3 separate regions of the Homo sapiens genome follow, and regions 2 and 3 are each linked to region 1. The links are contacts of gene promoters, found by promoter capture Hi-C in human tissues and cell types (Jung and others, 2019). All regions are on one chromosome and are shown on one strand. The core of a region is centred on a gene start or on the middle of the fragment in contact, and the rest is flanking DNA. Distances in the headings are between cores, read along the strand shown.

Evidence for each region. Contacts are between HindIII fragments. The study calls those that stand out against the background at their distance.
Region 2: a fragment that was not itself captured here is called in contact with the fragment with the promoter of GLRA1 in region 1 in 1 of the 25 tissues and cell types used here (H1 embryonic stem cells).
Region 3: a contact is called between a fragment that was not itself captured here and the fragment with the promoter of GLRA1 in region 1, in 1 of the 25 tissues and cell types used here (H1 embryonic stem cells).

What each region holds. Positions count from the first base shown.
Region 1 is chr5:151,923,405-151,928,062 of GRCh38, reverse strand. It overlaps GLRA1 (glycine receptor alpha 1), which reads left to right and starts at 3,212. Exons shown (of 9, transcript NM_000171.4): 1 at 3,212-3,569. The coding sequence starts at 3,514. RefSeq lists a silencer at 2,720-2,932. The HindIII fragment of the contact is 3,327 bases long and covers 1,081-4,407 here.
Region 2 is chr5:151,883,875-151,888,536 of GRCh38, reverse strand. GLRA1 (glycine receptor alpha 1) reads left to right here. Exons shown (of 9, transcript NM_000171.4): 3 at 1,749-1,816. Among named protein-coding and RNA genes, the nearest start is that of GLRA1, 39 kb to the left of the region's middle. The HindIII fragment of the contact is 8,525 bases long and covers 1-4,662 here.
Region 3 is chr5:151,973,452-151,978,151 of GRCh38, reverse strand. All of the region lies in intron 1 of LINC01933 (long intergenic non-protein coding RNA 1933), which reads right to left. Among named protein-coding and RNA genes, the nearest start is that of LINC01933, 17 kb to the right of the region's middle. The HindIII fragment of the contact is 5,852 bases long and covers 1-4,700 here.

The sequences.
Region 1 (4,658 bases), core at 1,963-4,462:
TGGCTTGTTTTGTTCCCTGCTATATCCCCAGTGCCAAGAATAGTACCAGATACACAGTAAATGCTCAATAAATGTTTGTTGAATGAATAAAATAATGAATCTTTTCTAGTAATAAAATAAGTCTCACCGTGTGTCAAAATTTATTCATACTTAGTAGGGCTCAAATCTGGCTACTAGGATCTATAAGAGACCAGTCAAGTATTAGAACTACGCTGGAGTCAGACTACACAGAAAAGTTACCAATAGAAATGAGCCATTAGCTGAAGCCAATCCATTCCATTCCTTGAAGATTTTTGTTTCATAGCATGGTAAGCTACAATAAGGTTAGACTTAAATATTTATTCTATGCAGTTTCTTGCAGTGAGAAAAGTGGCATTACTACCCTCATTTCACTTAGGCCTGGAGTTTAGTCATTTATCCAACATAACCAACCTTTTTGAAGCAGAGATAAAATAAGGACATAAATCCCTGACGGCCAAGCCCACAGTTGTTTATTTTCAATAGTGACCTAAACAAGAACAAAAAGATCTGTACAGGCATAAATATGTGATATGTAGGGTAAAAAGTGTAGATTAACATGAGGGACTCTTCCCACTGAACTTCTGAAGCAACTGCATGTTCCAAAAGTTTATCTTATATACTGTTTATTTTATACACTATCAGTATATACTGTGTTGTTTATCTTATATACTGTCATATCCCCAATACTTGGCACATGCTCATTTCATGTGTACTGATTAAATGAAAGTATCAGCCTCATAGTAAACAGAGGCCTATTAACAAACAGGTGCCCCTCCACCACCCCAGGTAATAATTACTCTTACCTCCTGCACAGGCCACAGCCTTGGAGCCACTCACACTCATGAACAGCAACACACACTCAGCACCCCTTGAAGGAAAAGAAAAACAAATTTCCACATACTGCATCACACCTGGCTATGCAGGTATTTCCTAGTCAGATGAGGAACCAGGACAAAATTGCCAGCTTACGGCTTGTTTCAGTACTTCTAGGACCACCACAAAGACACACATAGATACATACACATCTATGTGTATGTAGAGAAAGACCCATTTACAAATACAAACGTACAAATACACATATGCATATCAAAATCACTTCAGAATTAGGCACGATACAAATCATAAATAAATTTGTATACACAGTAACCTACAAGCTGGTTTTGCCCTAGCATACTCACAAATGTACACAAACACATACGCAAAGATAATACTTACCTCAAGGTTTGACTGTGAAAAGTAAATGAGATTATGTGAATTCACAGTAATTTCTGACACATAGAAACCATGCTAATAAAGGTTAGCTCTTGATTACATATATAAAAATACATATATTATACATTATATTTAAATTTGTATCCAACTCATATTAATATACACCTTCAAAACAAAATTTCCTTTTCAGTCACTATGCAGAATATCATGGAAATTCTAGACTGTGGGAGCCAATAACAGAACCGGTAGTGTGGGGTATGCTATTGTAGTACAGGGGGAGGGGAGGGGAAATCCTACTGGTAAGAGGCTAGTAAACAAGACTTTTCAGATCCTTTCTGCTTGGGAGAAGGCCTAGCCTTGGAGGGAGCTGAGCTGATGAGTATTCTTGGGAGATCAGCCAAAGGAGTTTCTAACGTTATTGGGTAAGGAGGAGGGGTTGTCCTCTCTCAGTAGCCTTGGGCGAGAGAGTCCCCAGAGTCCCAATGAGTTCAAATCAGCCAGAAAATCCTTTAAAGTATTTATCCTATAGTCCCACAGCTTGGGGAAAATCTGATTAACTCCATCTCACCAGATGGGCTTTACAGTGAAATGTATAGCTGGTTTCTAAGATTCAAATAAGGTGGGAAAACAGAGGAAGAAATAACGAAATGTGAGTCATAACACATCCCTGTGTGTACAACTTGGCTCTGCCATCAATTTGGAGCAAGCCACAGCTCTGTGAGGCTCAGTTTCCCCAGCATATAAAAGGCGAATAAAACTGTCTCCTGTCCAGTTGGAAGAAGGTGCTTTTATTCCCTCTCAAAAGGGTGCCAGCCACAACACCTCCCACTCAACGCTGGAAACTGCTCAAAGAATTTCTCTCGTATTTCCCTGCTGCGGTGACCCTGGAGGGGGTCTTTATCCACCAGACTTCTTTTTGGATATTCCTCCTTTCTTTCTAGGGCCAAATATTATAACTTCAGAGCTCTTTTAAAAAAAATCAGGGATCTGGTTCAACTCTTCCCTTTTAAAAGGATAAATTGAGCCCAGAGCACGTCTTAACAAGGAACCATGTGTTTTACTCACATACAACTGCATTCTTTAAAAATCAAGGCAACCTTTTGAGAGACCTAGAGAGATTAATTCCATATCCTCTCTCACCCCACCGCTTACACGGAAAGAAGCTTGGGGGTAGGAAGGGGATTGCGCAGATCTCGTCCAGCACTCTAAGCGTTAAATTCAACCCGGAGTCTAACAGGCTATTGGCCGAATACCGGGAGAAGATCTGGTTTTCGTAGCCGCGGGCCAATGAACACCTCGAGTGGGAGGGTTTGAAGATACTAAGGAGTTTTCCCCCTTTTTTTTTCCCCCTCAACCCCCTCCCATCGGCTATCACCCCTCCCATCCCCCACGCCTCCAGTTTGTTAAATTAATGCAGTAAGAAAGTCTGAAGATCTGAAGGAGTCTTGACCAAGGGAAGATGAGCGAGCTCAGAAAACCGAGATGCATCTGAGACATTGGGCTTCAGAGCCCCGCGGGGTAGCCAGGGACCCCGGTAGCCCCTGAAACTTGCCCTGGGCTCTCTGACGCCTGCGGCCCCGAGCAATGGGACACCTTTTCTGCAGTGATCACAACTTATTCGGCGGGGACCGGGAAACAGGAATAGCAAGGCGACAGCAGACCCGCACAGAGGCAGGAGAACGAGATTCCGAGACTGGATTGCGATGCGCCAGCCTGGCACACTCTCCGAGATTTAACTGAAGGCAGCGCCGTCAACCGCTTTCCCCTCGCCCCTAACCCCCTCAGGCCGGCCCAGAGCCATAAAGCTCTGTTCTCTTTACCCAAGATGCTCGCCCAATCCAACGGTCCGAGGCCAGCGCTCTGATCTCCACAGAAGATTTTTTTCCTTGCAGGGAGCTGGCCGTTTAAACAGAAAAACAGGGGTTTAAAAAAAAAAAAAAAAAAAAGGAAATATACCCACCCCCAAACGTGCCTCCCCAGCGCCGCAGGGAGCCAACAGACACGCTGGAGTTTAACAAACAGCAATACTCTTCGCGCTCCTGAAAAGCAGGTCTGGACGCTCTCCGTGGTGCTGAAACGCCTCGCAGCCGCCGCTGTCCGTGGTATCTACGACCCCCTCGCTCCAATTTCCCCTGGGGCTCTCCCTCCGCGCCCCTGTTCCCCGCCTCCCTTTAACATCTGGATTATTTTTTGCAATAGCGCTTTCTGGTTTTGTAAGTGCCAATTTGAAACATTTTTGCCCCCATAACTCGTGGACTACAAAGCACAAGGACCTGAAAAATGTACAGCTTCAATACTCTTCGACTCTACCTTTGGGAGACCATTGTATTCTTCAGGTATGCAATTTTCTACTGACCACATCGCTCTGATGGAAATGGGGGGAAAGAGTACGGAGGCTACCTCTGTCCGTGGTCCCATCATTTTGGGGAAGAGGGGTGCTGTATTCCACTGCAATCGGGTCCTTCCATCCCCCGTCTCCCTTCTCCCCCCTCCCACCCCCCGCCACCCACCCCACCCCCGCCCGCAGGGTGTCTGGCTTGTGCGTGGAGGTCTGAGACAGTCGCTGTTCTGGCAGCTGTTTGCCTGTTTCTTACGGTTTGTTTGTCCTTCTGTCTGCTACACCCCCCACTATTGGTCCCCAGCCCCACTGCATGTTGGCTTTCACTCGGCTGAGGACTTTAAAGGGAAGCTTTAGGAGTTACTCAGTTTAATTAGGACTGCATTCTCCCTAACCGCAGTGCCGAAAACCTCAGCTTTCCCGTCTGGGAGCCAAGTGACAACTAGCGGTGACGGGGAAGGTTGCACTCAAACTCGCTGGACACAGATCATTTCATTTTCTGTCCTTTTTTGCTGTTGTTTTCTTTTTCTGCGAAGAGGGAGGGGGATTACTAAGGCTGAGTGCTTGGAAACAATAGTATTATAACCTCAGTGTGTAAAGCCCTGAACTTGGGTGCAGAGTGGATCTATTTAGGAACATACTGGGAAACATTTCCCTTTTGAAACTTTGACTGCCTCTTTCCCCAACCCACCTTTCCAAACTCTGTTAGCTGCAGATCCTGAACTCATGAGCAATCTTCATTTGCTTTGTTTTTAAATTTATGCTTATATTTGACTCAACAGCTGAGTTATCCCATCCACTGTCTCTCAGGTTAAAATTTTCTGCCTGAAGACTTGTCTTTCTTATGTTAGTAGAAGTGAAAAGTGAAAAATCACCTCTTTAAGAAGCATTGAAATAGATAGTCCTTTAGTAAGTGTGTGAATCATACCATCTTCAGAGATGGCTATGATAAATTCCACTTATATGAATTGAAAAACATTATTCTTCTTCCATGACATGCAGGGATCATTAATCTTCCTCATTTTAGATGCCTGCCTCTCATATTTTACTGTGGCATTGGATTAACAGTCATTTGAAAAACCCACCC
Region 2 (4,662 bases), core at 60-2,559, 38 kb after region 1:
CTAAAATCTTACAACCCTGAAATGTAAATGGATAGCTTCCATAAAGGAATTCCAAACCACTGAAGCTGAGAATGACCGCCTAGATCAAGAGCTACTTACTCTCTCTCCAGATTGATGAGGAAATTGAGGCCCAGGACAGAGAAAAGGCATGGCCGAGGTAAACAACCAGTGAGTGCTGGAGTTATGTCCAAAACCCAGAAATCCTGATAATCCCTTGAAGGAAAAACCTAGTTTCTCATCCCAAGACTGAGTCCCCTCCTATATGCCAAGACTTCTGATCCTAGCTTAGTTTGAGCAAAATGCTTGGGCTACTTTTTCAAGAGGGACAGAATGCAATGGGTGCCAGAGGGCATAAGGACATATCTACTTTCTTCTTTCCACAATCAGAAAACTTTGGTTCAAGTCCTGGTTCTACCACTTGTTAGTTGAATGAGCCTAGGTGAGTTACTAAAACTCTTGGTGCTACCTTTGTCAAGTAGGAACAAGAATTCTGCCCTGTCTACCTCAGTACCTCATAGGAATCAAGAAAGTGGACCTGAAAAGCAAATCACAAATTGCAAATTACAATCTTTATGTGAAGGGCTGTGACCATTTATCCAAGTCCTATTCACCTTCAAAGTCATCTCCAGGCCACCACCTTTCTGAGGTCTTTCGTGCCTTATTCTCCAGAACTTCTCTCACCTGGACTCCTGCTGCTTTTACCACTCTTACCCATGGTCTTGCATTTCTCTTTGGTTATTTTATGTCAGCCCTTTTTGTCAGCTTATTTGGAAACCCAGTGCTGAAAATTCTGGACTCTGCCACTGTCTGTGTGATCGTGAGCATGCCCCTTCCTTCCTCTAAACCTGTTTCCTACAGAATAGCCATTAAGATGAGCACCCTTGGAGTTAGACAAATCTGAACTCAAACTCTGACTCACCCATTTACTAGTTATGTAGGCATGAACAAATAGCTTCTCTGAGCCTCTGTTTTCTCTCCTGTAAAATGAAGGTAATAACCATACCTTCTCCTGGAGTTGTTGAAATGATGAAATGAAATGATGTTAATAATACTCTCAGCACAGCAGGAACCCCCGTAATGTTTAGTAAATGGCAACTGCTATAATTAATACTATAAAGTGAAGAGATTGGGCTTCAATGAGACAACATCTCCTCTAGGAATGAGACAGCAAACCAGTGAATAATCCTCCATTTCTTTCCTACGCTTTGCAGTAGGATTCAAAAGACTTGCTCAGAAAGTATTTAACAAAGTCTGTGGACTTCCCCTGAGGTTCCTTCTGGATTCCTCAGCTGGTAATTCCCATCAATGCCTTTCAGACAATCATTCTTGGTTCATAAGTTGAAGGCAAGGAGCTTGCTGTTCCTTGTAATTCCCAAGATGGCCTCCAAATGTTGTAGACATAAATATATTTCAGCCACTAATTTGTGGCTGAAAGGCAGCCAATGGGACTTGGGGAAGGAATTTCAACCATATGGCGGCTGATGAATCATCCTGTGTTAATGAAAGTACATCTCAGCTCAGCCTCTGGTATTCTGTACCTGGTGCTCACTTGGGGACCAGGAAGTCTGGCATAGAGATGTTAAATGGTGGCTGGGAATCCCAGGTGCTTGGGGGTGGGGTGGAGAGCAAGCAAGGATCTCCTCCACCAAAGGCGATCCATTCCAGAAGTCAGTGTTCTGGGAATGAGTCCTACCCTGTGGGTTCTTCCATGGCCTTGGGGCTAAGCAGGAATCTCTCTTGATTGGCAGGTCCCCCAGTGAACGTGAGCTGCAACATTTTCATCAACAGCTTTGGTTCCATTGCTGAGACAACCATGGTGAGTAAGTCAAAACACAAGCTGTTAGTTCCTGCTGGAGATATCTCTCCATGAAATATTTATCCTCTGCATTGGTCTCCACCAAGGAAGTGGGGAATCAGCTGGGTTTTTCTCAAGTCTCCAGTGGTATACCATGAGGCTCGGATGTCTTTACTGTCACATTAAATGTTTTGAGTGAATACATAATATCTGAAAATAGCCAAAGACCTAGCAGGGCAAGCACCTGCCAAACACCCAGGATTACAAAAACAAAATTATACAACAAGTCAAATTTTTAGAGTAAAAGAAAATGTGAAGACCTGTTTTTAAGTTTAACATTCAACTGCAGAATGGCAGAAGACTGCTGGTTATACAAGCTGAAATGGGTATATTGGGTTAATTGTATATTTCCTCTACTGTTGAATACATTTAAAACTTTTCACAGTAAAAAAGTTTAGAATGAATCTATTACACTAGAAGAAATGCCTAGGAAAAAAAATACCAAAATTGTAAGAATGATTATCTCTGAATTAAAAAGTTATGAATAATTTTTATTTTCTTCCTACAGTATTTATATATTTTTCAAATTTCTGCAAGGGGTGAATATTATATTAGTAATTATGAATAAGTGTAATGATATTTTAAAACTTTTCTCAGACTTTTTGTTTTTGTTTTTTCAACAGAAAAATCAATTGTACTTATGTTAAGGAAGTGATCTAGCTTGTGAAAAAAAATAATCAGGGCAGCCTAAAGTTAACTCTAATCTATCCATTTCGGAACATCCACCCGCCCCTAATCTAGTTCAGGCTTCCATCATGGCTGGCTTACATGACTGCAAAGGGTTCTCGTTGGCTTCCAACTTGCCCCCTTCCAGTCTACTTTATCCCACACTAGCCTTTCCAAAACACAAATCTAACCACGTCACTGCTCCTATTTAAACACTTCCTATGGCTCCCCATCACCCTCAGCATTAAACCCAAGTTCTTTTGCAAAGCTGAGGAGGCTCCCTGTGATTCACCCTGCTTCATTTCCTCCCTCTCCCACTGCATACTCTAGCTGCACCGATTGCTTACAGCTCTCCAGCCAGGTCGTCTCTCGCTCTCTGCTTTACAGGCTTCTGGTGGTGGCTGCTAGGCCACTGCCCAGAGCACCCACTCCAGCCTCCTTTCCCTTGCCAATTCCTATTCTCCTTTAAGACTCAGCTTAGAATTATTTCCATAGAAAGCCTCCCCACTGTAACATGCGCGTACGTGTGTGTGAGTTCACGTGTGCCCTTCACCCAAGGCTGGGATGGGTCCCTTCTGTCCATTCTCATAATACATTTTACAGTTTCCACAACAGCACTTGTCACTTACAATTACCACTGTACCAACCTGCTTATGTGTCCCTCCTGTCACTATACTGTAAGTTCCTTGGGGGCTGGTATCTTGTTTCATTTCCTGTGGGAACCCCAGCAGCTAGCACAGTGATTCAATAACAGATACTCAACAGTTTTTTAAATAAATAAACCAAATCAATTATATTGCTTATCAATTAAAACCAGTATTTGGTCCTAAGCATTTATGGAGATTACATCCAACCTTTCAGTCCCAGGCTGGCAGAAATCACTGAGTTCAGTAGGTGAGGTGGCCTGTCTTGATATGGTCACGAAGACTGTTCCCACATTCAAAGGACAACTGGTGAAACTCCCTAAAGTAACAGGCCTCTTATCTCCAAATGGAGATGGTCCCACTTGTTAGCTAGGAACAAACATGGGTGCTTTTCACTGGATATCCAGGTCAAATAAATAGCCAAGTTTTTTTCACCTTTGAATGGATGTCTTACAAGCACTCTTAATGAGCCCCTCTGCTTTTCTTCCCCTCCTCTGAGATCAGAAGCATATTGACATTTGTATTAATCATAATCTGTACAGTGAGTGTTGACACTTCCACTCTTTTTCCTCAATGGTAAATGGTTATCAAGCCAAGTCAGGGAGTGGACCACCTGGTTCTGTAAGGAACTGGTTATTTGAGGACAGGTGCACATATCAGCACTCGTTTCCTGATAATGACCAAACAGAGACTTAATTCCTTCATACAGATTCCTAAAAAAGAAAGATATAGCCTTACTTCCCATGGTGATTAAAAGCCCAGCTCTGGAGTCACATACACTGAGCTCACTCTGTCTACGAGGAGCTTATTTGCTTCACATCTTTAAGCCTCAGTTTCTTCATCTGTAAAATCCCAATGGTAATTAACATACTGATATCATTAAGTTATTATGTGAAGTGTGTAGAGAAAAAATGGGTTTTTTTGTTTTGTTTTGTTTTGTTTTGAGACAGAGTTTCACCCTGTTGCCCAGGCTGGAGTGCAGTGGCACGATCTCGGCTCACTGCAAACTCTGCCTCCTGGGTTCAAGCAATTCTTGTGCCTCAGCCTCCCGAGTAGCTGGGATTACAGACATGCACCACCAGGCCCAGCTAATTTTTGTATTTTTGATAGAGATGGGGTTTCGCCATGTCAGCCAGGCTGGTCTCGAACTCCTGGCCTCATGTGATCCACCCACCTCGGCCTCCCAAAGTGTTGGGATTACAGACGTGAGCCACTGCACCCAACCTAGAAAAATGTTTATCATTGTCCATGCTTTGTAAATGTTCACCAAGCATTTTTTATGATGGTGATGATGATGGAGACTCTTGACACTGCAGCCCCAACATTATCATTGATGATTTGCTGTGTAATCTTGAGCAATCCTTAGACTTCTTTGAGCCTTGGTTTATTCCTCCTCTCCTCTCCACTCCCACCTCCACAACCCTCACCCCCCATTTCCCACCCCACATCTTCTGACTACCTTTCCAGACTTCACTTCTGCTGCATTTTGCTTTCTAC
Region 3 (4,700 bases), core at 1,585-4,084, 50 kb before region 1:
TCATGAGGGGAAATGAAAATCAAAACCACAGTGAGATATCATCTCACCCCAGTTAGAATGACCATTATCAAAGAGACAAAAAATAACAAATGCTGGTGATGATGCAGAGAAAGAGAAACTCTTACTATTGGTAAAAATGAAAATTCTTATGTTATATAAATTCTTATGGAATTTCCCCCATTAAGGAAAACAGAACAGAGGCTGCTTTAAAAACTAAAAATAGAACTACCACATGATCCAGTTATCCCACCACTAGGTATACATACAGAGAAAAGGAAATCAGTATGTTGAGGAGATATCTGACCTCCTATGTTTATTTCAGAACTATTCACGATAACCAAGATATGAAATCAACGTGCATCCATCAGCAGATGAATGGACAAAGAAAATGTGGTATATATACATAATGGAATACTATTCAGTTATTTTAAAAGAATGAAATACTCTCATTCATCATGGCAACATGGATGAGTCTGGAAGACATGTTAAGTGCAGTAAGCCAGTCACAGAAAGATAAATAACCACATGTTCTCACTCATATGTGGAAGCTAACAAAGTTGATTTCACATAAGTAGAAAGTAGAATAGTGGTTACTAAAGACTGGGAAGAGTAGGGGTGCAGGGAAACAGGGATACGTTGGTTAATGGACAAAAATTGCAGTGAGCTAAGAGGAATAAGTTCCAGTGTTCTCTAACATTGTGGGATGACTACAGTCAACAATAATTTATTGTATATTCTCAAATAGATAGAAGATTTTGAATGTTCCCAGCACAAAGAAATGATAAATATTTGAAGTGATAGATATGCTAACTCCCCTGATTTGATCATTATATAGTATATACATGTTCAAAATATCACACTGCTTTCCATAAATATGTTCAATTATTATGTGTCAATTAAAAGTAATACTAATACATTTTCTTTACCTATGGAAAAAATAACCAAAACATGTGACAGAGAAAAATACATTTAAAAGATCAGAAAAAAATTCAACCATTTTAGTAAATATCAAGAAACCATGAAAATTAACATTCTATTTTTATTAATCCTTAGATTTACAAATTGATTTATTAATCCCAAAAACTCAGTTTATTTCATTTGCCCAAAAATTTCCTTTATGTCTCACTCTCAGAAAAGAAAATTTACTTTCTAATAGACAATTCACATTAGAAAAATAAATAAGACCGTTATAGACATTCAGAAATAAATATAAATCAGTTTAACAACTCTCTTACATGGCAAAAAAAAAAAAAACTCTCAAAATGAGTGACTTCCCACAACACACACACATGACTAAATTTCATACTATTGAAAGGAGATATCTCTAAAACCAAGTAACCCATACCAAAGGAAAAAAAAAGTGCAAAAGTTAGAGAAATGGAGAAAGACATGACAGACCACCTAAACATTAGGAAATCAGGTTCACAATAGTATTATGTGAAAAGTAGAAAAAGTTTTAAAAAGAAGCCTTAGCCGGGCACAGTGGCTTACAGGTATAATCCCAGCACTTGAGGAGGCCAAGCAAGGCAGGTGGATCACTTGAGTTCAGGAGTTCGAGACCAGCCTGGGCATCCTGGTGGAACCCTGGCACTACAAAAATACAAAAATAAGCCAGGCATGGTGGCACCCACCTGTGGCCCCAGCTACTCAGGAGGCTGAGGTAGGAGAATCACCTGAGTCTGGGGAGGTCAAGGCTGCATTGAGCTGTAATTGCACCACTACACCCCAGACCGGGTGACAGAGTGAGATCACACCTCAAAAAAAAATTTTTTTTAATTAAACAAATAATAATATAAAGGATAAAATGCATAATGAAAAATATTAGTTTTTTATTAACCAAGAAATTTCTTTGAAATATATAAATTACGTTACATAGATATTGAGGAGAAAAGATTAGCAGTGAGATAATTAAATACATCTAAATCTTTGACTGGAAAGGTGAACAAAAATTAAGACAAAAGGATGCAAATAACATAAACTAATTATGTTGATTTAACAAACTAGATACTCTACAATAAGGGAATATATCTTCCTTCCAGCACTCATAAAAGTCATAAAAATCTGTCATTTATTAAGCCACAATGAATACCTCAATATGCTGCAAAAATAAATGTACAGATCACGTTTCAGAGCATAATGCAATAAAATTTGAAATTAAAGTTTCAAGTTTTAATATATCGACTTCTTAGAAATTATTAATGTTCTCCTGAATAACTTTTGAAAGTGGAAATCAAAATCCTTATTACAAATTATTTCAAGAATAATAAAATTTGAGGCTACTACATTCCAAAATATATGTGAGGTGGTCAAAGCTATATGTATATTAAAATTTAAAACTTTATGTGTCATTACTCAACAAGAAAAAGTGGAAATAAATGTAAGAATTGAAGACAATATTAGAAAAATAATAAACTAAGATAAGCAAAAATTAACAAATCAAAAAGCAAAAAATTAATGAATTGTTAAGTTACCCAAATAACCATTAAATGTAAATGTTTAAAAATACCTATAGAATGCCTAACAGAGGAAGAGACTGAAGCAAATTAAAAATATTGGAAATAAGAATAATTTTTTTACTATAAAGAATACTGTGCATAACTCCAGGCTAATAAATTTGAAAAATCTCATTGAAATAGTTTCTTTTCTAGGAAAAAGTAAGTTAAAATTTACTCAGACACATTGAAAACTTGACTATTTAAATAGCAGAAAAAAAAACAAATAAAATTTCAACCCACATCTTGTATTATATGCCAAAATTAATTTACAATAGGTTAAAAAATTAAAGTTAAAATGTAATTCTTAAAAGAAGAAGAAAATGTATGAATTTTTTAACTTAGATTGTATCAACAATCCTACATATAAGTAAATGCAGAATCCATAAAGGAAAAAACATCTACAGATTTGACTATACTGAATTAGAACTTCAGTATAAAAAAGGCTTTGGAAAGCAAATTTTTAAATTGGAAAAAAGCAGTTTCGATACACATGACAGAAAAAGGTATACTCTTAATATAACAAGAATAAGAAATGGACAATCATTAACAGAAATAAAAATGGCAAAAAATAAAAATAAAATGTTAAACTTCTCTAGCATGCAGCAGGTAAATTCAAATGAAAGTAAGATATTTGCTGCTACTAAATTGATCTTTCAGATGAGAATTCCAGGTTTTAGCAGGAGTATGGAAAAATTGATGCTCTCTACAAAAAATAAACATGTAATTTAAAAAAAATTGTATCCTTTCTGGAAGACAATTTGCCCATTTATATTGGAAGCCTGAAAATGTACATATTCTTTAATCCAACAACTCTACTTGTAGAAATTTATCCTAATTAAATGGGTATGTAAAACTATTTAGAGGGATGTTCATTTCAGTTTTTTAAAACATTGTTTATATTGTGATATATTCAAATGAATTTTTCAAGAATTATATAGAATACTAAATGTCATTTAAAAATTTCATTACGGATTAAGTTTTTAAAGCCCATTTTTAAGAAAAGAGCATCTCAATTATAATTGTATATATTATAATCTTCTCAAAACATGTTATACATTCAGATTCCCAGGCCTACTTCCAGACATACTGAATTAGCCCAAGAGTGGGATTCAGGGATCTGCATTTGTAACACGTTCTATATATAAAGATCTGTATATGATAGAGAAATAAAGACTGAAAGTATATACAGCATGTTTATTTCTGAGTAGAAAGGCAATAATTTTTCTGTGTTCATAATTTGCATGTTTTATATTTTCCATAATGAAATAAAAGTGTTACATTTCTCAATTTAAAAATTACATTATTTAATGTAAATTAACAACACACAGTGGTTTATGGCAAATCAGATAAATAAACCTTAACAACCAGGGATCTGAGTAGTTTGTAGAGAAAAATAATTAAGACAGAGAATACAAACTGGTAGCCCACAAGGTATAAAACATCTTTAATCCAGATGATGTTTAACTGTTTTAAAAGTAATCACCCACATTTAAAAACAGGGAGCTTTCCCTTAATAAATACTAACTGCCATCTTCTTTTGAAAAAAATGAGATCTGACCACACTGGGCCCAGATGGCAATAACTGATTGGGGTAGAGGGGCTCCTCTTTAGATGTCCAAGGGCTCTCCAGTTTACTGTTCCCCACCACTCCCTAGTATCCTCCCAAAGCTGAGGTCAAAGTCAATTGCCACACTTTAAGTCAATCATCACACTTTATCTCTATTTTTTTAATTACTACTGTTTTTACATTTTTGCCTTATCCATAGGTATTTGAGTCTGAGTTCCCTTGATTAAGCAAACACCTAGCCAACCTGTGACAAATACAGGAGGCGAATACGATACTAAAACTTTGCAACTCAGAGTCTCAACCCTGGCTGCACATTGGAACCACCTACAGAGTTTTCTAAAGTCCCATGGCTCAGGCCACACCCCAGACCAATCATATCTGTGCCTCAGGGTGGGACCCCAGCATGCAAGTTCTTAAAGCTTCCCTATTACCCATTGGAGGTAACAGGTAATTCCAATGGGTAGCGCATGCTGAGAGCCACTGGGTAGCCCAGGCTGACAGTCACTGTTCTGGGGGAAAGGGTGCTAATAGAAGGAACCCAGACTGATTTGAGGAGGCCGAGCCATTACTAGCAGGGAGTGTGGAGACAGCCTGGATTCAAAATCCAGCTCTTCCACATACAAACTGTGTATTTAGCA